Linked DNA regions of Homo sapiens: region 1 is linked to region 2. Evidence: promoter capture Hi-C in human tissues and cell types (Jung and others, 2019). All regions are on one chromosome and are shown on one strand. The core of a region is centred on a gene start or on the middle of the fragment in contact, and the rest is flanking DNA. Distances in the headings are between cores, read along the strand shown.

Region 1 (7,006 bases), core at 543-3,042, 170 kb before region 2:
GAGTTTTGCTCTGTCGCCCAGGCTGGAATACAGTGGTGTGATGACAGTTCATTGCAGCTTCAACCTCCCAGCTCAGGTGATCCTCCTGCCTCAGCCTCCTGAGTAGCTGGGACTACAGGCATGAACCACCATGCCTGGCTAATTTTTGTATTGTTTTGTAGAGACGGGGTCTTGCTATGTTGCCCAGGCTGGTCTTAAACTCCTGGGCTCAAGCGACCCCCGCACCTTGGCCTCCCCAAATGCTGGGGTTACAGGTGTGAGCCACCACACCGCCTCTATTCTTCTCTTCTCTTCTCTCCTCTTCTCTTTCCTTCCTTCCTTCCTTCCTTCCTTCCTTCCTTCCTTCCTTCCTTCCTTCCTTCCTTCCTCCTTCCTTCCTTCCTTTCTCTTTTCTCTCTCTCTCTCTTTCTTTCTTTTTTCTTTGCTCTCACTGTATCACCCAGGCTGGAGTGCAGTGGTGCAATCTTGGCTCACTGCAGCCTCCACTTCCTGAGTTCAAGCAATTCTCATGCCTCAGCCTCCCAAGTAGCTGGGATTACAGGTGCATGCAACCATGCCTGGCTAATTTTTGTATTTTTAGTAGAGATGGGTTTCGCCATGTTGTCCAGGCTGGTCTTGAACTCCTGGCCTCAAGTGATCCGCCCACCTCAGCCTCCCAAAGTGCTGGGACTACAGGCGTGAGCCATTGCGCCCAGTCTTGTTCTTCTCCTTTCCAACGGAGAGCGTTTGTGGGTCATCCTATTCCACCATTGTATGTTGAGTGTATTACTTTGCCGGGGCCACCATAACGAGATACCACATACTGGGTGTCTTGAATAATAAAAATGTATTTTCTCACAGCTTTGGGGGCTGGAAGTCCAAGATCAAGGTGCCAGCAGGGCTGGTTTCTTCCAAGGCCCTCCCTCCCTGGCTCGCCTGTGTCCTCAGGTGGCCTCCTGCCTGTGCACACCTGCCTGACGCCTCAGTCTGTGAGTCCACATTTCCTTCTTATAAGGACACTAGACACATTGGATTAAGGCCCACCCTGACGACTTCATTTTAATTGAATTGCCACTTTAAAGATTTTATCTCCAGCCAGGCACAGTGGCCCACGCCTGTAATCCCAGCACTTTGGGAGGCCAAGGAAGGCAGATCCTTTGAGGTCAGAAGTTCCAGACCAGCCTGGCCAACATGGTGAAACCCCCTCTCCACTAAAAATACAAAAAAACTAGCCCACGCTAAAAAATTACAAAAAATTTGAAGATCATTTGAGGTCAGAAGTTCAAGACCAACCTGGCCAACATGGTGAAACCCGGTCTCTACTAAAATACAAAAATAGTAGTCCAAGCTAAAAAATTAGCATGCAACACCACGCCTCTCATCCCAGCTACTCGGGAGGCTGAGGCACAAGAATCTCTTGAACCCGGGAAACAGAGGTTGCAGCAAGCTGAGATCGCATCACCGCACTCCAGCCTGAGCAACGACAGAGTGAGACTCTGTCTCAAAAAAAAAAAAAAAAAAAGATATTATCTCCAAATACATTACTTTGTAAAGTACTGAAGGTGGGGGCTTCAACATATGAATTTGGGTGGGGAGACAATTCAACTCATAACAGTGTGTGAGATCAGAAAATTCCTCCTGCTCCCCCCGCCACCCCATTTACAGGTCTCCTATAGAGAGAAGCGTTGACTGGGGACACTCGCTGCTTGCGTTTTGCTGGTAGCTGGGCTGGAAGGTCCACAAAGGTTCACTTCATGTGAGTGGCACCTCAGGGCTCTTCCACAGGCCCTTCTCTCCATGCAGCTCTCTTGGGCTTCCTCACAGCATGGCGGGGTTTTTCACGGTGGCTGGCTTCCAAGAGGAAGCACTTCAAGCTGGGTGAGAGCAGATGCCTCAAATCTCTGCAGCCTCAGCCTCGGAAGTCACACAGCGTCGCTTCTGCTGCATCCTGTTGATGAAAGCCAGTCCTGGAGTCAGCCCAGATCCAAGGGGAGGAGGAAAAGACTCCAGGTCTTGCTGAGAGTAATGACTAAGAATCTGCAGCCATCTCCAATCCACCACGCCCATGCAAGAGACGGGAGTGATATTTGCAACCAAGATGGTGAACGGCAGCAGATTGGTCACTGTTTCCAGTTATTCACCATCCCCTCAGTGAGAGGATTATCCATCCTGCCCCATTGCTACGTGACATGCAGAGCATCCAGTGCTGGGTACACTTCCCCTCCCCACCAAATCATGTTTGGCCACGTGACTTGCGTTAGCCAGTGAATCCGGAGCCCAAGTCCTAGCAGGCCATTCAAAAGAGAAGCTTCAAGAGCCATCACGTGGGTTGGCCAGCCTGCCTGCACTTTTCCCTTTAAACAGAGCTGCGTTTTCTAGAGAGAGGCCTCACACAAGCCTCCCTGTTCCACAGAATACAAATCCAATTGGTAAGTCTTCTATCCATCTTAAGAAACCTTTACATTTTTAAATCTCTCCATTCTCAAATATTCAAAGCCCTTAAATTCATTTATTTTTCTAGAAGTAACACCTGACAAGTTTGATATGTCAAGGCACCACCCGTTCCTTCTTAATCCACAGGAACTCATTGAGGGTAGGGAACCTGGGAGGTCACCACAGCCTGTAAATCCAAGCCTGGATGTAGTGAGTGTCTGGGGTGGCCAGGCTTTCTGCAGGTATGTGCACATTGAAGGCCAAATCTCAGCTTTGAACTGAGTCCCGAGCTTAGGACTCCTCCTGACTCTCTTCTGGGAACACTGTGGCTCAGAGAGGTTAAGTGAGTTGCCCAAGGCCACTCAGGTAGTAAGTGGCAGGGCCAAGACTGGACCCCAGGGCCATCTTGCTCCAAAGTTCCTAACCACTAGACTCTCCAGCTCTCACCCTGTACGTGGGCTATAGATATTTGGTTTTATTTTATTTTTTAATTTTATTTTGAGACAGGGTCTCTCTCTGTCATCCAGGCTGGAGTGCAGCGGCACAATCATGGCTCACTGCAGCCTCGACCTCCCTGGGCTCAGGTGATCCTCCTACCTCAGCCTCCCGAGTAGCTGGGACCACAGGTGCACGCTACCACATCCGGCTAATTTTTGCTTTTTTTTTTTTTTTTTTTTTTTGAGACGGAGTCTCGCTCTGTCGCCCAGGCTGGAGTGCAAAGGCACAATCTCAGCTCACTGCAAACTTTGCCTCCGGGGTTTAAGCTATTCTCCTGTCTCAGCCTCCTGAGTAGCTGGGATTACAGGCATGCACCACCACACTCAGCTAATTTTGTATTTTTAGTAGAGACAGAGTTTCTCCATATTGGTCAGGCTGGTCTCGAACTTCTGACCTCAGGTGATTTGCCCTCCTCAGCATCCCAAAGTGCTGGGATTACAGGCGTGAGCCACCGTGCCCAGCCATTTTTGCATTTTTTTTTTTTTTGTAGTAATGAGCTTTTGCCATCTTGCCTAGGCTGGTCTCAAACTGCTAGGCTTAATCGACCTGCCCACCTCAGCCTCCCAAATGCTGGGATTGCAGGCGTGAGCCATGGTGCTGGCCCTAGATATTTGTTAAGTGGATGAATAAACTACCCAGTAGTTCCTTTGGAAACCTGAAAGGTTTTGGATGCAGTGATAGAGGTGTTCCAATCTCAAGGATTGGCTAAAAGCTATAGGAACTTGGGGTGGGGTAGGATACACTGAATGGGGTCCACTCTCTCCCCAACAATTCCTCCTCTGCCCTCAGAGGAGAATCTGGTGTTTGTAATGCAGAATCTGGAGAATGTGTCAAAATGATAGTGACACTGACATTTACTGAGCGATTGCAATGCCCAGCCCCCAGCCTCAGAGCCCTCCCTAATTTTACTCCTTTACACTTTCTCAGGGATGTGGTGAGGTTACAGACCATCATTATTCCCATTTCACTAGTGAGAAAACTGAGGCACACAGTAGGCTGAATCCGTGCTTCCCAAACTATCTGTGATGAAGGAACTTCGAGAAAAAATGTTCCAATCTGTCAGGAATGATATTTTTATAATATACACAGTCACAATGGGATGTAGGCAGTGTCAAATTGCTATGAAAGTTGCTAAATGCTTATCCTCAGTTCTATAGTTAGCGTGTCGTGTCCACAAACAGTGTGTGGCCCAGCACTGATCCTCGGACCGCGCCTTGGGTAGCGCGGGGTCAAGTCACAGCGTGTGACTCGCGGGGCCAGGATTTGGACCCAGAGGGTCTCGCTCCAGAGCGTGGGCTCTGAACCACTCACCAGAGGGGCATGGATCATGAGGACGGGCGGGGAAGGGTCTGCCCACTGAACACATTACATAACAAATATTCGAGGGAGAAGGGGAGAATGCAGGCTGGTGTCAGGACTGTCAGGCAGCCTCCAGCATGCGCAAAACAACAGCCAGTCTAATGGAGAGAACCGGAGCAAGGAAACGGGCGCTGGTGAGAGCTGTTGCTGTGGGGTTTGAATTCGGCCCCTTTGAGGCTCTTCGGGAGTCACAAGGACATTCAGAAAGTTCGTTTAAATGACTTGTGACTGCTGGATTATCAGGTCCCAGGAGGCAGCGACTGAACTACATGGAAGCCCAGCTTTTATTTGGGTTACACGGGCACCAGTCTGGGTTTCCACACATCTCTCTCCACTCCCAAATAAGTTATTTATGCTTATTTTATCACTTTTTTTTTTTCTTGAGATGGAGTCTTGTTCTGTCACCCAGGCTGGAGTGCAGTGGTGCCATCTCAGCTCACTCCAACCTCCGCCTCCCGAGTTCAAACGATTCTCCTACCTCAGCCTCCTGGGTAGCTGGGATTACAGGCGCACGCCAACACATCCGGCTAATTTCTGTATTTTTAGTAGAGACAGGATTTCACCATGTTGGCCAGGATGGTCTCGAACTCCTGACCTCATGATCCGCCCACCTCGGCCTACCAAAGTACTGGGATTACAGGCATGAGCCACCGAATCTGGCCATTTTTTTTTCTTTTTTTTTTTGAGATAGGGTCTCACTCTGTCACCCAGGCAGGAGGCCAATGGCACAATCTCAGCTCACTGCAGCCTCGACTTCCCAAGCTCAGGCAATCCTCCCACCTCAGCCTCTTGAGTAGCTGTGACTACAGGCACACAACACCACGCCCAGCTAATTATTTTTGTATTTTTAGTAGAGACAAGTTCTCGCCTTGTTTTCCAGGTTGGTTTCGAACTCCTGGGCTCAAGTGATCCACCCGCCTCAGTCTCCCAAAGTGTTGGAATTACAGATGTGAGCCAATGTGCCCAGTCCCCTCCCAAAGAATTTAAAACACCACTAAATGGTTACCTCCTGAGGGTTCAGTGAATACTCCTTGGGTTAGTGAAGAATGAATACACAGATAAGTGATCAGCCATAAAGTCATCTTCCATGTCCACTGTGTGCAAGGCTCGAAGCAAATGTCAGATACAGAGGACCAGGAGGAGACCCAACCCCTCCAAATACCAAAGGGGGCCAACCAAAGAGGGTCATCGATAAGGGATGGGATTAACAGTGGTTGTATTAGGCCGGGTGCGATGGCTCATGTCTGTAATCCCAGCACTTTGGGAGGCCAAGGCGGGTGGATTGCCTGAGGCCAGGAGTTCGAGACCAGCCTGGCTAACATGGCAAAACCTCGTCTCTAATATAAAAAAAAAAAGAGTGAGTGGTTATATTTTCTTCATTGGATTCATCTATATTTTCTACAATATCTACAATAGGCATGCATTACTTATGTAATAACAATGAGATTCTTTTGGCAAAAATAAAACAGTTCCCACTTTAAGCCTGCCCCTAATTCAGCTGAAGAAAAGACGGTTGGCCCATTGAGGGTAAGGATACCACAGACAAAGGTGCTCAATAAATGTCTGGGTTACATTTTAGTCACGCACCAGGAGCAGAAAGGAGGAAGAGGCCTTTTTGAGAAGGGTTCCTTTTCTTTGTCTCTTTCTCTATCTCCTGCCCCTGCCGGTGCCGCCACCCCTAGTGTGGAAGCTCGCTGTGGACAAGGTCAGACTGCCTGGGGCTATTCCCTCCACTGGGGCAGGGTCTGTGACAGCCGCAGTTGCCCCAGGATGGCTGGGCAGGGTCGGCTCCTGCCTGGATGGCTGACGTCTCCTTCCAGTTCTTTGTTCAGTTTCCAGGGGGACCGGGGATGGGGAAAGGCAGGCAGCACAGCCCACGGACCTGCAGGGCCACAGCAGAGAGGCGCTGCTTCACGTCCCCCTGGGCCTCCGTGGCCCTGGCCCTGCACACAGCACGGCTGCCTCCTCCCTCCGACTTATTTCCGGTCACCTGGCTGGTGGGTCCCTCGGGGCAGAGCGCAGGGTCCCCAGCTTTGCTCCTCGCTCTCCTCCCAGCTCCTGCCTCTCCTCTTTCTGGCTGCCTCAGTGGCTGCTCAAGGTCAAGGAACAAACAGATAAACCCTTTCTCTGGAGCCGGCTTGGAGAGGACGCCTCCAGCTACAATCCAATTCTGAGTCAGGGCCAGGGCTCTCTCTTTCCTGTGAATGTGAAGACAGGAAGGAAATTTTCGCAGCCATAAAATCGGTAAAAATGTTTTGTAGGCAGAGAAGAGGCCAAGCAGTTGGCTTTGGTTTAAGGCACAAACAGCAAACGGGAACGGTCAGACCCAGGGAGGGAGGGCCTGGGGGGTAAACTCTAATATTCAGGCAGCCAGTGCAAGATTTTTTGTTGCCCCAGGGCCAGTCAGGTGTTGGACGTGGTGTGGAGGACACGGACTTGGTTCCCAGCTCACGGGGACGGGATGATGTGGGGGTCTGACCAGGCAGTTGAAGACTCGGGACTCTTCTAGGCTGTTAGCCAAGATGGCCCAGGGGCAGGAGCCAGGACTGTGGATTCAGAGACGCAGTGTGGACGGCAATGAACTGGATGGCTCTCATGTCTTAGAGGGATGAACCTGGAGCCCAGAGGAGTGGACATGGGCCAGCCTGGGAAGGGTCATTCAGGCTGTGGCGGGGATTTAGGACTTTATCCAGAGGGCAGCGGGAGGCATGACAATGGAGAGGGGGACGTGGCCCAG
Region 2 (6,441 bases), core at 2,873-5,372:
ATCACTTGAACCCAGGAGGTAGAGGTTGCAGTGAGCCGAGATCGTGCCACTGCACTCCAGCCTAGGGACGGAGTGAGACTTCGTCTCAAAAAAAAAGAAAAAAAAAATCAGCCTCAAGGGCAAGGCTGCGGGAAGGCCTGCTTGACCCACCTATAACTCTGTTATGGAGGAAGGTCATGGCTGACCGTTAGTATGCACATAGTTATATGTCTGCATCCATTCATCTGACCACATCTGTATGTCTGTGTAGATGCAGAGGGAATGCTTTTCATCAGCCTCCAAAGAGCCAAGCAGTTGGGAGGTGTCAGGACAGTGCCTGGCTACATGCCTTGGGACCTAGTCATCTAACAGTTGTCTGCTCAGGAACCCCTGCTCTCTGCTGGCTGCTGGGCCAGGCAAAGGCATAACCCAGCTCTGCCCACCTGCCTGAAATCTCAGCATCTTCACTCGAGGGCCACTGGAGCCTGTTCTGAGGCACCACAGTGTCCCCTGCAGGGCCTACCAGGGAATCTCACACACAGTAAGGTGCTCAAGTATTTGCTCTTGAATGTGAAAGTCTGTAACTGTGTTTGTCTCTGCTTTTGCTCACATTTGAGAGAATGAATTCCATACTTTTATTTATTTGTATCTTGTGAGAAGTCATGTGTATATTTGGCCTGATTGGTTGAACGTTCTGAGGTTGGTAAATGTGTTTCACTGTTTTTGTTTGTTTGTTTGTTTTTTGAGACAGGGTCTTGCTCTGTCACCCAGGCTGGAGTGCAGTGGCACGATCTTGGCTCACTGCAGCCTCAACCTCCCAGGCTCAAGCAATCCTCCCACCTCAGCCTCCCGAGTAGCTGGAACCACAGGCATGCACCACCACGCCCAGCTAATTTTTGTAATTTTTGTAGAGACAGGGTTTCACCATGTTACCAAGGCTGGTCTCAAACTCCTGGGCTCAAGCGATCCTCCTGCCTCAGCCTCCCAAAGCACTGGGATTATAGGCATGAGCCACCATGCTTGGCCATGTGTTCCATTTCTAGTTCCTACCCTGATCCATCAGGAGTATCTACCTAGAGTACTGTGTGAGGAATGGTTCTGAGGCTCAGTGGGGAAATATGATCCATTAGTTTTGTCTGCTGTGGGTATGAGATGAGGAAGAATGATATGTTTGTGATGTATTTACTCTCCCTGGTCTTTAAACTCATGGGCAGTGCCATTCACCCTTCACCCCTGCTTAAGCCTGGAGGAATTTTAACCTGGAGGAACTGTTTCTGTCTTCTTTTCCTCCTCTGTTAAAACTATGGTGTCTAGGCCCAGGTAGGTTCCAATTCCTAGGCTCTTCTCTTACCTCCATCCCTTAGTTTTCTCCCAATATTCAACATATAGTAAAACCTAATAAAAGTTAGAGTAAGAAATGGACAAATGATGGTGGGATGGGTAAAATGATGGAAGACTGGGTGGGTGGGTTGATGGGTGGATGGACTGATGGGTGAGTTAATGAAAGGGTCTGAATAGAACTGAACTATGAATGTATGGGTAGATGGACAGATGCGTGGCTGGATGATTATGTAGATGGGTATGTAGGTTTGTGGATGGCTTTATGACTAGATTAGCGATGGACAGTGTCCTGGGTTTACAAGTGGATGGAAGGATTTGTAGATGGTTGGTCATTGGATCAATGGATGGATGGATAGAAGTGTGGGAGTTTTATTTTTTATTTATTTTATTTTATTTTATTTCATTTTTATTTGAGATGGAGTCTCACTCTGTCACCCAGGCTGGAGTGCAATGGCACAATCTCAGCTCACTGCAAGCTCCGCCTCCCGGGTTCACACCATTCTCTCGCCTCAGCCTCCCGAGTAGCTGGGACTACAGGCGCCCGCCACCACGCCCGGCTAATTTTTTGTGTTTTTTTTTTTTTTTTTGTATATTTTTAGTAGAGACGGGGTTTCACCGTGTTATCCAGGGTGGTCTCAATCTCCTAACCTCGTGATCCGCCCACCTCAGCCTCCCAAAGTGCTGGGATTACAGGTGTGAGCCACCGTGCCCTGCCGAAGTGTGGGAGTTTTAGATGGATGACTGGCTAGCTGGTTGGCCAGGTAGATGAATGGATCCACAGGACACCTGATTCATGGGTGGGTGGGTGAGTGAATGTATGGATGGATGGAGTCATGGGTCCATGATAGATTAATGGGTGGACAGAAGGATGGATGGATAGATGGAGAGATTCATGAACGGGTTGTAGAAGACTTGGTTCATGGATGAGATGGATGCAAAGATGGATGGGTGAATGGGAAAATGAATATATGAATAGATTCATGGATGAATTATGTGTTGGTAGAAGACCTCATTAATGGATGGGTTGATTCATTGATGAACTGGCGAATGAATCTTGAATGGGTTGGTAGAAGATCTGATTCACGGACAGCCATATGTAAGGATGGATGAATGGGTAGATAGGTGGATAAATGAATACATTCATGGGCGAAAGAGGAAAGAAAGAAGGAAAGAAATGCCCCTTTCCTCCACTACCCTACCCTTATCCCGCCCATCACTCACTGGTTGGCCTTTCTGACAGTGGTGAATTGTGAGTGATCACCCTTCAGGGGCCCCAGAATAGGTGTCTGCTGGAGCGAAATCTTCGTAAGACTATCCTGGAGGTGCGATGACTGGCCCCTTAAAGACAAACAGGCCACATCTGGCATGAGTGGCCAGGCTGTCCCGCCCTGGAAACATCGATGGCAACCCCGTCCCCACCAAGAAGCGGACTGACGCTTACCACAGGTCTGGGAGGAATGAACAGTTGGGACACCGCGGAGACCCTGGGCAGTGCTCTAATACACCCCTTTGATGTTGCGGTGCTGGGGATGCTGGAGCCAGGAGGAAACAGTTGTGAGCCTTGGCTGGGGGACGGTCCTTTCTAGTCATGTGGCCTCGGGGTGATGGCAGACCAGCCCTCAAGGACGGGTTGCGAGGGCTCTGAGATACTCAGCTAACATTAGCATCCTTCTAGCCTGGGTGGTGGGGTGGTGGGTGCGGGGACACAAGGGACCACCCCCCACCGGAAATGACTCGGGCCCGCCCCCCGGGCCCCGCGGGGCCTCACTCAGTGGCTCCGGCTCCTCGGCGCACTTCTCCTGGAGCTGGTGCAGGAACTCACGGAACCTGCTGGGGAGGAGCTCTCCTAGGAAGGCGCCCAAGAAGTCGGGGTCCTCCCTGGCCACGCGCCTCCGGGGGCGCTCGCGCTCTCCAGGCCCTGGCTGCCTGGGCGCCGATTCCCGGGACGCGCCGGCCGACAGCAGGGGAGGCGGCAGCAGGGACCGCAGCAGCCCCCGCTTCCGCACGGCCCGCCGGGTCGCGGTGAGCAAGGCGGGCAGGCGCGGCGGGAGGCGTCCGACGCCCACCCCGGGCTTGGCGTCCCCTTCCGGCCACCACGCGGCGCCGCCCCCCGGGATCCTCCAGTCCCCGGAGCCCCGCGCGCCCAGAGCCGCTCGGAGCGCGGGCGGGGTCAGCTTGGGCAGCCGCGGGTCGCTGCTGCGTCGGAAGTCTCCGTCGCCAGGGAGCCCCTTGGGCGCCAGGTCCTGGGCCCCTGGGCGAAGTCGACGCCAGAACATGCTTGGCCCCGCACTCAGCTCACCGCACCCTCAGCGCGCGTGGGTGGGGGGCGCCGGCTGAGGTGGGGAGGGCATAGTCCAGCCCCAGGCCATAGTGCCCCGGGCGGGGCAGCGCGGTGCGGGGTGAACGCCACCGGCCCGGCGGACAGCGAGTGGCTTCAGGCGAGAGCTCCCAGAGCCTCTGTTTCCTCACCTGAAAAATGGTGACAGCAAGAGTAGCCAACTTTGGGGGTTGCTGTGACGTTTAAATGAGCAAGTACATGCCAGTCTTAGAACAGCAAGCTCGGTACAGTGCCAGGCACGCTGGCCAAGCTTACACATAGACTAGCTGCCATTCTTAGTATTTCAAAGTTATTATTATTTAGGATTTAGTCCCAGCTCCACCACTTATTAGCTTTGTAACCTTGGCCAAGCCAATTAACTTCCCTCTGCCTTCCCTGGGGGCTCTGGTCTGCAGAATGGGGATAATAGCAGCACCTGCCTCTCTGCAGCCGTGAAACGGCATCACCGCATCACCGCTGGTAGAGAGAGCACTTAGCCTGCCTTGCAGTGTTCAAAGCGTGGAACTGTTACCGTCATTAGCGCTCTACTGGGAATTAGGAAACCTGGAACCAGCTTGAGGGAAGAGAGACCTGACCAGCAGCCTCCCAGCCCTGGTGCTGCCTCAGAGACCCCTGGGTGGGGAGCCTGTTGAAAATACAGATGACTTACCCCCAGCCCCCATTCTGATTCAGTACGTCTCTGCTGGAGCCAAGACAGTTTGTTGTTCTTGTTGTTGTTGTTAAAGAGATGGGGTCTTGCTAAGACGGGGTCCTGCTGTCACCCAGGCTGGAGTGCAATGGCACCATCATAGCTCACTGCAGCCTCAAATTCTTGGGCTCAAGTGATCCTCCTGCCTCAGCCTCCTGAGTAGCTGGGACTACAGGCACACACCACCACAGTTGGCTAATTTTTGTATATTTTGTAGAAATGGGGTAGAATTTTTTTGTATTTATGTTGCACGGGCTGGTCTTGAACTCCTGGGCTCAAGTGATCCACTTGCCTTGGCCTCCCAAAGTGCTGGGATCACAGGCGTGAGTCCCCACTTCTGGCCAAGACACAGACTTTTAACAAACTCCCCCTTTGGGAGGCAGAGCCCCAGTCTTACTCCCAGCTCTGACACTGAGGGGTTTCTAAGCCTGCTTCCTCCCAACCACACCCCACTCCCAGATTGTTGTCAGCTCTGAGCTGACTCCTGGGCAGTGTCACACTCACCCTGGTGGGCTTCTGGGTGGGGCCCTAGAAGGTCCTGTGAGTTTAGAGCTCTCTACAGGCAGGCTGTAGAGCCCATCATCCCTGCCTGGTGCCTCTCCCAGCCCCTCCCGGCTGCCTCTGGGCCGCTTCAGGGTCATTGTGATCCGCCCCTCACCCCTGGGCATCTGAGTAGCAGTGGGCACTGAGGCCTGGGGACTAAGGGTGGGGCTATTGTGCCCTGGATGCCCTGGCCGCAGCCACCTGGGGCACTGGGACTCTGACCAGGGCAGCCAGGCCTACCCTTTCCAGATCTGGGAGGCTTAGGCTGGGTGGCTCTGGAAGTAGAACTTCCACCCCAAGACCAGGCAGTCAGAATACAATGGACCTAGAAATGAACAGACCCTGCGGGGCACGGTGTCTCACGCCTGTAATCCCAGCACTTTGGGAGGCCGAGGCGGGCGGATCACCTGAGGTCAGAAGTTCAATACCAGCCTGGCCAACATGGTGAAACCTCGTCTCTACAAAAAATACCAAAATTTGCCATGCATGGTGTTGTGCACCTATAATCCCAGCTACTTGGGAGGCTGAGACAGGAGAATCGCTTGACCCTGGGAGGCGGAGGTTGCAGTGAGCTGAGATCATGCCACTGCACTCCAGCCTGGGTGACAAAGCGAGACTCCATCTCAAAAATAATAATAATAATAATCCAAGGTCTGGGTGCTAGGTGTGCTTCTTGCTATTGAGATGTCATTTCTTTCAGGCAGTCTCAGCTGACAAAGAAATGTGTGTGTATACTATGAAACACACACATATCTATAAATATTTCTATAGGTAACCATCTGTACTTATATTAAGCTAAACATGAGCTCATGCTGACATCTCCAACTCTAATCCGTTACACAGATCATTTGAGACTCTGTCTCACAAAAAAAAAAGAGGCCAGGTTCCAGTGGCTCATACCTGTAATCCTAACACTTTGGGAGACCGAGGCAGGTGGATTGCCTGAGCTCAGGAGTTCGCAATCAGCCTGGGCCACATGGTGAAACCCCGTCTCTACTAAAATACAAAAAAATTAGCCGGGCGTGACAGCGTGTGCCTGTAGTCCCAGCTACTTGGGGGGCTGAGGTAGGAGAATTGCTTGAACCCGGGAGGCGGAGGTTGCAGTGAGCCGAGATCACGCCACTGCACTCCAGCCTGGGCAACAGAGTGAGACTCCATCTCCATAAAAAAAAAAAGAAAGAAAGAGCCGGGCACGGTGGCTCACGCCTGTAATCCCAGCACTTTGAGAGGACAAGGCGGGTGGATCATGAGGTCAGGAGATCGAGACCATCCTGGCTAACACGGTGAAACCCTGTCTCTACTAAAAATACAAAAAATTAGCTGGTTGTGGTGACGGGTACCTGTAATCCCAGCTACGCGGGAGGCTGAGGCAGGAGAATGGCGTGAACCCAGGAGGCGGAGCTTGCAGTGAGCGGAGATCGCGCCACTGCACTCCAGCCTGGGCGACAGAGCAAGATTCCATCTCAAAAAAAAAAAAAGAAGGAAGGAAGGAAGGAAGGAAGAAAAGAAATTAACAGACCCACTTTCAAGTCCATGGTCTGCTGTTTTGCTG

The links. Contacts are between HindIII fragments. The study calls those that stand out against the background at their distance.
Region 1: a contact is called between a fragment that was not itself captured here and the fragment with the promoter of C9orf50 in region 2, in 1 of the 25 tissues and cell types used here (dorsolateral prefrontal cortex).

Annotation. Positions count from the first base shown.
Region 1 is chr9:129,445,128-129,452,133 of GRCh38, forward strand. LOC105376291 (a long non-coding RNA gene) reads left to right here. Exons shown (of 3, transcript NR_188645.1): 3 at 1,645-2,424. Among named protein-coding and RNA genes, the nearest start is that of LINC00963, 40 kb to the right of the region's middle. The HindIII fragment of the contact is 6,251 bases long and covers 1-4,918 here.
Region 2 is chr9:129,616,979-129,623,419 of GRCh38, forward strand. It overlaps C9orf50 (chromosome 9 open reading frame 50), which reads right to left and starts at 4,123. Exons shown (of 7, transcript NM_199350.4): 1 at 3,089-4,123; 2 at 2,762-2,852; 3 at 2,542-2,658. The coding sequence starts at 3,596. It also overlaps a transcript of NTMT1 not described here. RefSeq lists an enhancer at 3,585-4,235. The HindIII fragment of the contact is 8,954 bases long and covers 1-5,671 here.